Linked DNA regions of Homo sapiens: region 1 is linked to region 2. The links are contacts of gene promoters, found by promoter capture Hi-C in human tissues and cell types (Jung and others, 2019). All regions are on one chromosome and are shown on one strand. Each heading gives the region's core, a stretch centred on a gene start or on the middle of the fragment in contact. The rest is flanking DNA. Distances are from core to core; before and after follow the strand shown.

Region 1 (3,410 bases), core at 538-3,037, 53 kb before region 2:
ATTTAGTTTTGCTGTATACACTGACGGAAATAATCCAGTAGCCTCCATAGCCCCCACTCCACTTTGTGTTATGAGGACAGCAGGCAGTCAGCACACATGCACTGACTCATATGATACCCACATTCAAAGAGCTTTAACGTGTTGGTTGGATTCCAAAGTAAAAAGAATAGAGACTCATTGCCATGGTTGTACCTGGTCAAGGTCACACCCCAGCCACACTTCTGAGCCATTTGGCTTAGAAATGGGAAACATTATAAAGTTGAGTCAGGAATATGGCAAACCTCCAACCAGAGTAAACTATTTAAAAAATTCACATTTTCTTGTGGCCTTCAGTTTTTTCTCCTTGACATCCTCTGTTCTATCAAGACATTAAGTCCCATGGCCCATGCAAAAGACACTTGGTGCTGTGTTCTGAGATTATCATTTTGATCTACATCTGACTACCATTTTTCCAGCCAAGACCAGCCTTCCTTGTAAATAAAGATCTGTTCAGAGGATATGAAAGAATACATATTCAAGGAGTGCTCTATTCCTTTAGCTGTTCAAAGGATTTGAGGACTTTGTTTGTTTTGAAACAAGTAACCGGCTTTCTCTAACCACGTAACCTCAACCTCACAGGACAGCCAGCAGGAAGTCAGAAATGAAGAACAGCCGATGACCTGGGTGCACTCTCTGGGTGCAGCCTGCTGTTGTCCTGTCCCCACCCTTGTCCTGTTTTTCACTTGTCTTGTTGTTTTTAAGAAAAATTTTTGTCTGCTCTGAGGATCTTCTGCTGATCTCAGGTTTTTCTTTCAGGTAATACATATGACAGGTGCTGGACAGAGCTGAACTGGAACAAGGGTCTGCAGCCATTCACAGAGGGCATGTCAATCTGTGTTCACTCAGGCAGGAGGCAGGAACATGCAGGATGGGAATGGGAAAGTAAACAGGAGTGGCCATGGACTCCTGGCCTCTTCTCTCCATGAGGTTTTCTCACCGAGAGCCTGCTCCAGGGAAGGTGGTTGGCCAAGGCCTGGGGAGCAGCTTTGTGAGGCCTAGGAAGACCCCAGAAGAGGACTTTGCTGAGAAGAGAGCAGACAAGAAGTCAGGAGTGGGGTGAGAGCAGCTTCTCCCTCTCCTTCGCACACTTGTACATAGGCATTCTCCCTCTATTTCCAGCTCCTGCACCCAAGCTATAAAAACAAGTATGGCCTACTGTAAGGCATTCCACAATAAAGACCTCATTCCTTCTGAAAACTTTTCACACTATAAGAAGCTTCTTCTGAAAGGCAAGCGCAGTCACTAGCAACTAACACTGTAGCCACTGCTATTCATCTTTCTAGGTATTAAATAACATCTATTTGAGGGCAAGAGCGGAACACAAGAGACATATCCAGAAGGAGAAAAGAGAGAGAAAATGAAAAGGGAATTAATTGGTGAAGTGGGATGTACCAATTTTTCCTCAGGGTTGCCTGTATTCAAAATACAAAAATACTCTGTGAGTATGAAAGTATTCAAAAATATTCGGTGAGCAATTTTCAGTGTACATTATTTATCAAATAAGCATTTTTTTCTGCACCTTGGCACATAATAGGTGCTCAATAAAAGTTATTGTTATTACTGGTATTAGTACTGTTGCTGTAATGCTATTACTGCATGCCATGTTAACATACTGTTCTGGGTTCTAGGGATAGAGAGGGGCAAAACCTAGTCTGTGTCCTCAAGAACTTACAGCCCAGAAGGGGGACAAGTGAGTTAGTGGCAGGTCCTGACACAGTGTTAATAAATGCTGTGATTAATGTCAGCATTAATAATATGACTAATGCTATTAATGTCAGCATAAACGCTGAGCCAGAATGGACCAGACTTTTATGGGAGTCTATAGGAGAAACACTGGCTAGGAGTGGGGCAGGGATGAGCACTGCTTTCCAAGAAAATAGTCACTGAGAGGAGTCTCAAAAGACAAATAGAAACTGGCCAGGTATATCAAAGGCTTTCTTTTTGTTAAGAAACAGGGTCTTGTTCTGCAGCCTCAAACTCCTGGGCTCAAGTGATCCTCCTGCCTCAGCCTCCCTAGTAGCTTTGACTACAGGCATGCACCATCATGCCCAGCTGTTTTTTGGTAGAGATGGGGTCTGCTATGTTGTCCAGGCTGATCTTGAATTCCTGGCCTCAAGGGATCCTTCCACCTTGGCCTTCCAAAGGTGCTGGGATTACAGGCATGAGCCACTGTGCCCAGCCAGTCAGAGTCTTCATTGCAAGTGACAGAAACAGACTGGCCATTTTAAGCAGAGAATGTATAGAGAGACTATCAGATGATCATACAATTTCTAGGAAACATGGAGAACAAGATTTGGGAAAGTGGTGCCAGTGAGGTGAGGATGCCATTGGTGGTGTGGCATCACAGACTGGCTGCTGGAAATCACATGCTGCTGCCCCCCTCACTCCTGCCAACCACCACGGCCAAAGGGAGTCTTCCTTGCCCTGCTTGTTTGTATCATTACTTCCAGATTCAATATTGCTAATAGGTGCAGCTGATGGACCAAGCCAAGGCTATCTCCCCACATCTTATCTGCCAAGGTAGCGGCAGATTGAGTGCTGGGTCTTTTCAACTTCTGTAAAGGAAGACAAGCACTGTCTCCCAACAAGGCTCACAAGTGAGGAATGTCCTCACACATTTGGAGAGGATCCAGAGGACATGAGTCAACACGTGCCAAAGACTCTCCACCACGTGAAGCAGGGAGGAAAGGGTCTAGTGGAGAGGGAACATGACCTGGGGGTGTTGGGGGTAAGACACAGCATAATGGAGGATGAGGACAATAACTCACTTTGACTGGAGCATGGATTATGAGAGGGAGATAACTGAAGAGGAAGCTGGAAAGGTAGAGAGTCTAGACCAAAGAAAAGCCTTGTATATTCTGTGCCTGACGAGGAGTTTGGTCTCTATTTTGTGAAAGAAGACATAGCGATTTATATTTAGGGCTTTGGAGGGGAATAGAGGTGGGGTAGGGGTTGGCAAGGAAGATCAGAGTTTCGAAATTTGAGACGTGCACTCACAAGTCTTCCCAGAGAACATCTTCTCTGTAGTTCTAGGTCAAGGACATTTATTTAGCTTTTGTCATCATCTTGCCAACCATGGCTTTCCATTCTGCCTTTTTGCATCATAAGTTAACTTCACCTTCCCCAGATTGCATCTATCACACAGGCTGATTTTGGGCTATGCATTGTTCTTGTATTTGAGGGATATGTAGACACAGGTGGAAACTGGCCAGGATTGCAAGAACTGGTTTGTTTAGAGCCAACACAAACACCCAGCTACATCTATATTTTCACAATAGTATGTACACTGCACTAAGACACAGAGGCAAATTGTGAAAAGCATATATCCTCTTGTGATCTTAATTCATTGGGAAAAAGTACAATATAGAGAT
Region 2 (3,522 bases), core at 547-3,046:
TGGGGCTTTCATTCTAATGAGAAAGCCAAACATTAGCCAAGTAAATAATTGTGTATTTTTAAATTATGATGCTATGTTTTAAAAAGTACATGCAAATTAACCAAGGGACTTAAAAAAATACTCTGAGAGAATGCCACAAGAGGGGCTAATTGAGATTAGGAAGTCAAAGTGGTTCTCCTTGAGAAAGTGATGTTGAAGCTAAGTAACAGCCAAACCGAGAGAGAGAGAGAAGTGCATTTAAGCAGAGAAAATGATGTCTGCAAAGAGTGGGCAAATTTGGGACTACAGGAGGCCACCATGGTGGGAGTGGAGAAAACAAAAGTAAGAGCAGAGTCAGATGAGGTTGGAGAGTTGTGCAGGGGGAGATCATGCAAAGACTTTGGAGGCCTGTTTTCCCTCTGTGTAATCATCAGCCCCACAAAGAGGACTAGTGTGAAAAGATCATTCTGATTAATGAGTGGTAAAGAGATGGGGAGGGCTGCGAGAGGAAGCAAGAAGTGCAGCAAAGGTAAGAGTGAAGATGAAGAAAAGTGATGGCTTTGGGATGTATTTTGGAGGCATGCTCAATAGGGTTTAAGGATGGATTGGCTGCGGGTGGGGAGAAGGTCTGCAAGAAGAAGTGTCAGAGATGGTTCCCAGGTCTCTGACATGAGTAAAGGGGAATATTCTTTACTGAAATGGGGAAGACTAGAGATGGAGCAGATTTGGGAGGAAAGATCAAGAGGTCTTAATCTCGATATGTGTCGTGTTTGAGATGCCTATGAGGCATCCAAGCAAAGATGTGGAATAGGCAGTTAAATATGTGGACCTAGAGAGCTGGGGTTAGAAATCTGAATGTTGCTGGGAGCCATAGGACTCTTATTTAGGGTAAGAGGGTAGCAAGAGAGGAGAAGGAAATTCAGAACAGAATCTTAGGAAATGCCAAAGAAAGAGTTAGAGGAGAAATTGGCAAAAAGGATGAGGTGAAAAACAAGTGTGTTAAAAATTTTTTTTTAGCATTTCAAGAAGAGAAGATTTTAGCCCGGCATGATGGCTGAGGCCTCTAATCCCAGCTACTCAGGAGGTTAAAGCAGGAGGATCACTTCAGGCCAGGAGTTTGAGACCAGCCCGGGCAACACAGCAATACCCCATCTCTAAAATTAACTAATTAGTTAAATAATTTTTAAAATAAAAAGAGGAGTTCATGAAAGTGTAGTCAGCAATGCCAAATGCTTTTAAGTAAGATGAGAGTTGAAAGTATTCATTGTGTTTAGCAACATAGGGTTTATTGCTCTTAGGAAGAGCTGTGGTGGGGGCAGAAATTGGAATGCAGATATGGCCTGTGGCTGGGAGTTGGGTGAGTGTTCCTAATGAGGGCCTTTATCATACCAGGAGTTAACCTATACACCACACTTCTGCAGCCCATGACAGATTCCATGGAGTCATCCAGCCAAAAAACACCACCACTAAACTCTCATCTAAACAGGTTGGTGAAATGTCAAGGAGATAACCCTTGAGAAGATTCTTTTTTTTTTTAAGTACACGTGAGCATCTGCTGTGCAATCTCTGCAAACCAATGAAATTACGTACACACAAGTGCATTAAACCACCCACTGGTGGTTTAATCTCACAAGGAACTTGAGGAAGCAATCTTCATCATCACTTCTGCTGATCAAAGTCTCAAAGGTCAAGACCACATTGCAGTCTTTTCATTGTTGTAAAAGTTAATGAGAGTTAATTATTAAAGCTGACAGAAAGGTAATTTGTCCACTGTCTTACATAGCCTATATATAGACATCCCTATGCATATGGATGCACACAGAGCCTGTAGACCTGAGTGGATGGACACTGCCTCTTAGAACTAGAACTTAGAACTTTATCTTGAAAATGTACCACTGTTGCAGAAGCTCCTCACAGAGTATGTGTCAGGTAGGAACCAAATTTATGATTGTTATATTCAAACTGGTTTTCTGTTCCTTGAAAATGGTATTTTTTCTGATCAAAGCCTATTTAGGAGTTATTATGTTCTTGAGTTTATTCCATGTGTGTGAATATTTTGAATGAATCCACTAATAAGATATGCATGTATGTCTGGAGCGCTAGCAATGTAGAATAAATATTTAAGTAGACTTTAACAAGTAAATGGTTGTAGGCATCATTAAGTCTTAAATAGCCTTTTCAAAGATATTAGTGTTCTTGTTTTAATTATTCAGATAATTCCTTTAATTCTCCACTCAAATCTGACTTTATAGATAGATTGTCTGCTCTGAGGGTTGGCAAAAAAAAAAAAAAAAAAAGCAAGCTTTAAGGAAAGAGTTTCTCCAGGAGAGAGAATCACCTACTAGAAAGGATTCAGAAAGGCCATCTGGTCCCAGCCAGGCATAGGGATATGTATCTATAGTCCTAGCTACTCAAGAGGCTAAAGCAGGAGGATAGCTTAGCCCAAGAGTTTGAGGTCAGCCTAGGCAACATGGCAAGACCTTGTCTCTTAAAAAAAAAGGGAGGGGGTAGGGGACATATGGTCTAGAAGTGAGAGATTTATCTGCTAGACATCCTAGAAAGTCCAAGACTAAGGGAAACACGGAGAGAAGAAAAGGCAATGAGAGTAAGAAGGATAGAGACTGGAAAGAGAAGAGAGATGGGGAGAAAATGGTCACTGGAAAGTAGCAGAATGCCCTATGCCACAAGTAGTATAATATAATATAATACATTAGTAATGTATGGGTACTTATCCCATACATTACTAACTCTATCAAGATAAAATCTATTTTATTCTTTAAAATGTCAGGAAAAGATTATACAACTTTCTTTATATATGCAAGTGAGGAACAATTTATCAAATTATTGGACTAAATAATTCTCTTTTCTGAAGTAAGTTAGTCATTTGGAAAAACTGTGTCATGAAATTTGACTGCATAAAGATCATTCCTTTTTTTTTTTTTTTTTCTGAGACGGATTCTCACTCTGTCGCCCAGGCTGGAGTGCAGTGGCACAATCTCTGCTCACTGCAACCTCTGCCTCCCAGGTTCAAGTGATTATCCTGCCTCAGCCCCCCAAGTAGCTGATACTACAGGCACGCTCCACTGTGCCTGGCATTTTTTTTTTTTTTTTTTTGTATTTTCAGTAGAGACGGGGTTTCGCCATGTTGGCCAGGCTGGTCTCGAACTCCTGACCTCAGGTGATCCTCCCACCTCAGTCTCCCAAAGTGCTAGGATTACAGGCATGTGCCACCCCATCCGGCCAAGGATTATTCCTAATGAAAATTTAGGAAGCAACTAATTTGATTTCAGAAACAAGAAAAATGGGGTAACACAATACATACTTTGCCTTCTCCCTCTGGATAAGGGAATAAGTAAGTATATAAAGAAATGAACAAATGTTTAATACCTCCTAAACAGCTCATATTCGACTAAGAAACAAAATCGTTCAGAAAATGAGAATGAATATTTTTCAATTACAAGAATAAATATGTAATAACACAGTCTGGTGCTTCTCTACAATAAAGGTCTTTGATTCTCCAAAGAGAAGAGAAGAGGCTCCTCT

The links. Contacts are between HindIII fragments. The study calls those that stand out against the background at their distance.
Region 1: a fragment that was not itself captured here is called in contact with the fragment with the promoter of SLC26A3 in region 2 in 1 of the 25 tissues and cell types used here (neural progenitor cells).

The regions. Positions count from the first base shown.
Region 1 is chr7:107,854,502-107,857,911 of GRCh38, reverse strand. LOC105375444 (a long non-coding RNA gene) reads left to right here. Exons shown (of 3, transcript XR_927850.3): 3 at 796-1,433. Among named protein-coding and RNA genes, the nearest start is that of DLD, 35 kb to the left of the region's middle. The HindIII fragment of the contact is 4,620 bases long and covers 1-3,410 here.
Region 2 is chr7:107,801,497-107,805,018 of GRCh38, reverse strand. SLC26A3 (solute carrier family 26 member 3) reads left to right here and starts at 1,796. Exons shown (of 21, transcript NM_000111.3): 1 at 1,796-1,908. The HindIII fragment of the contact is 6,982 bases long and covers 1-3,522 here.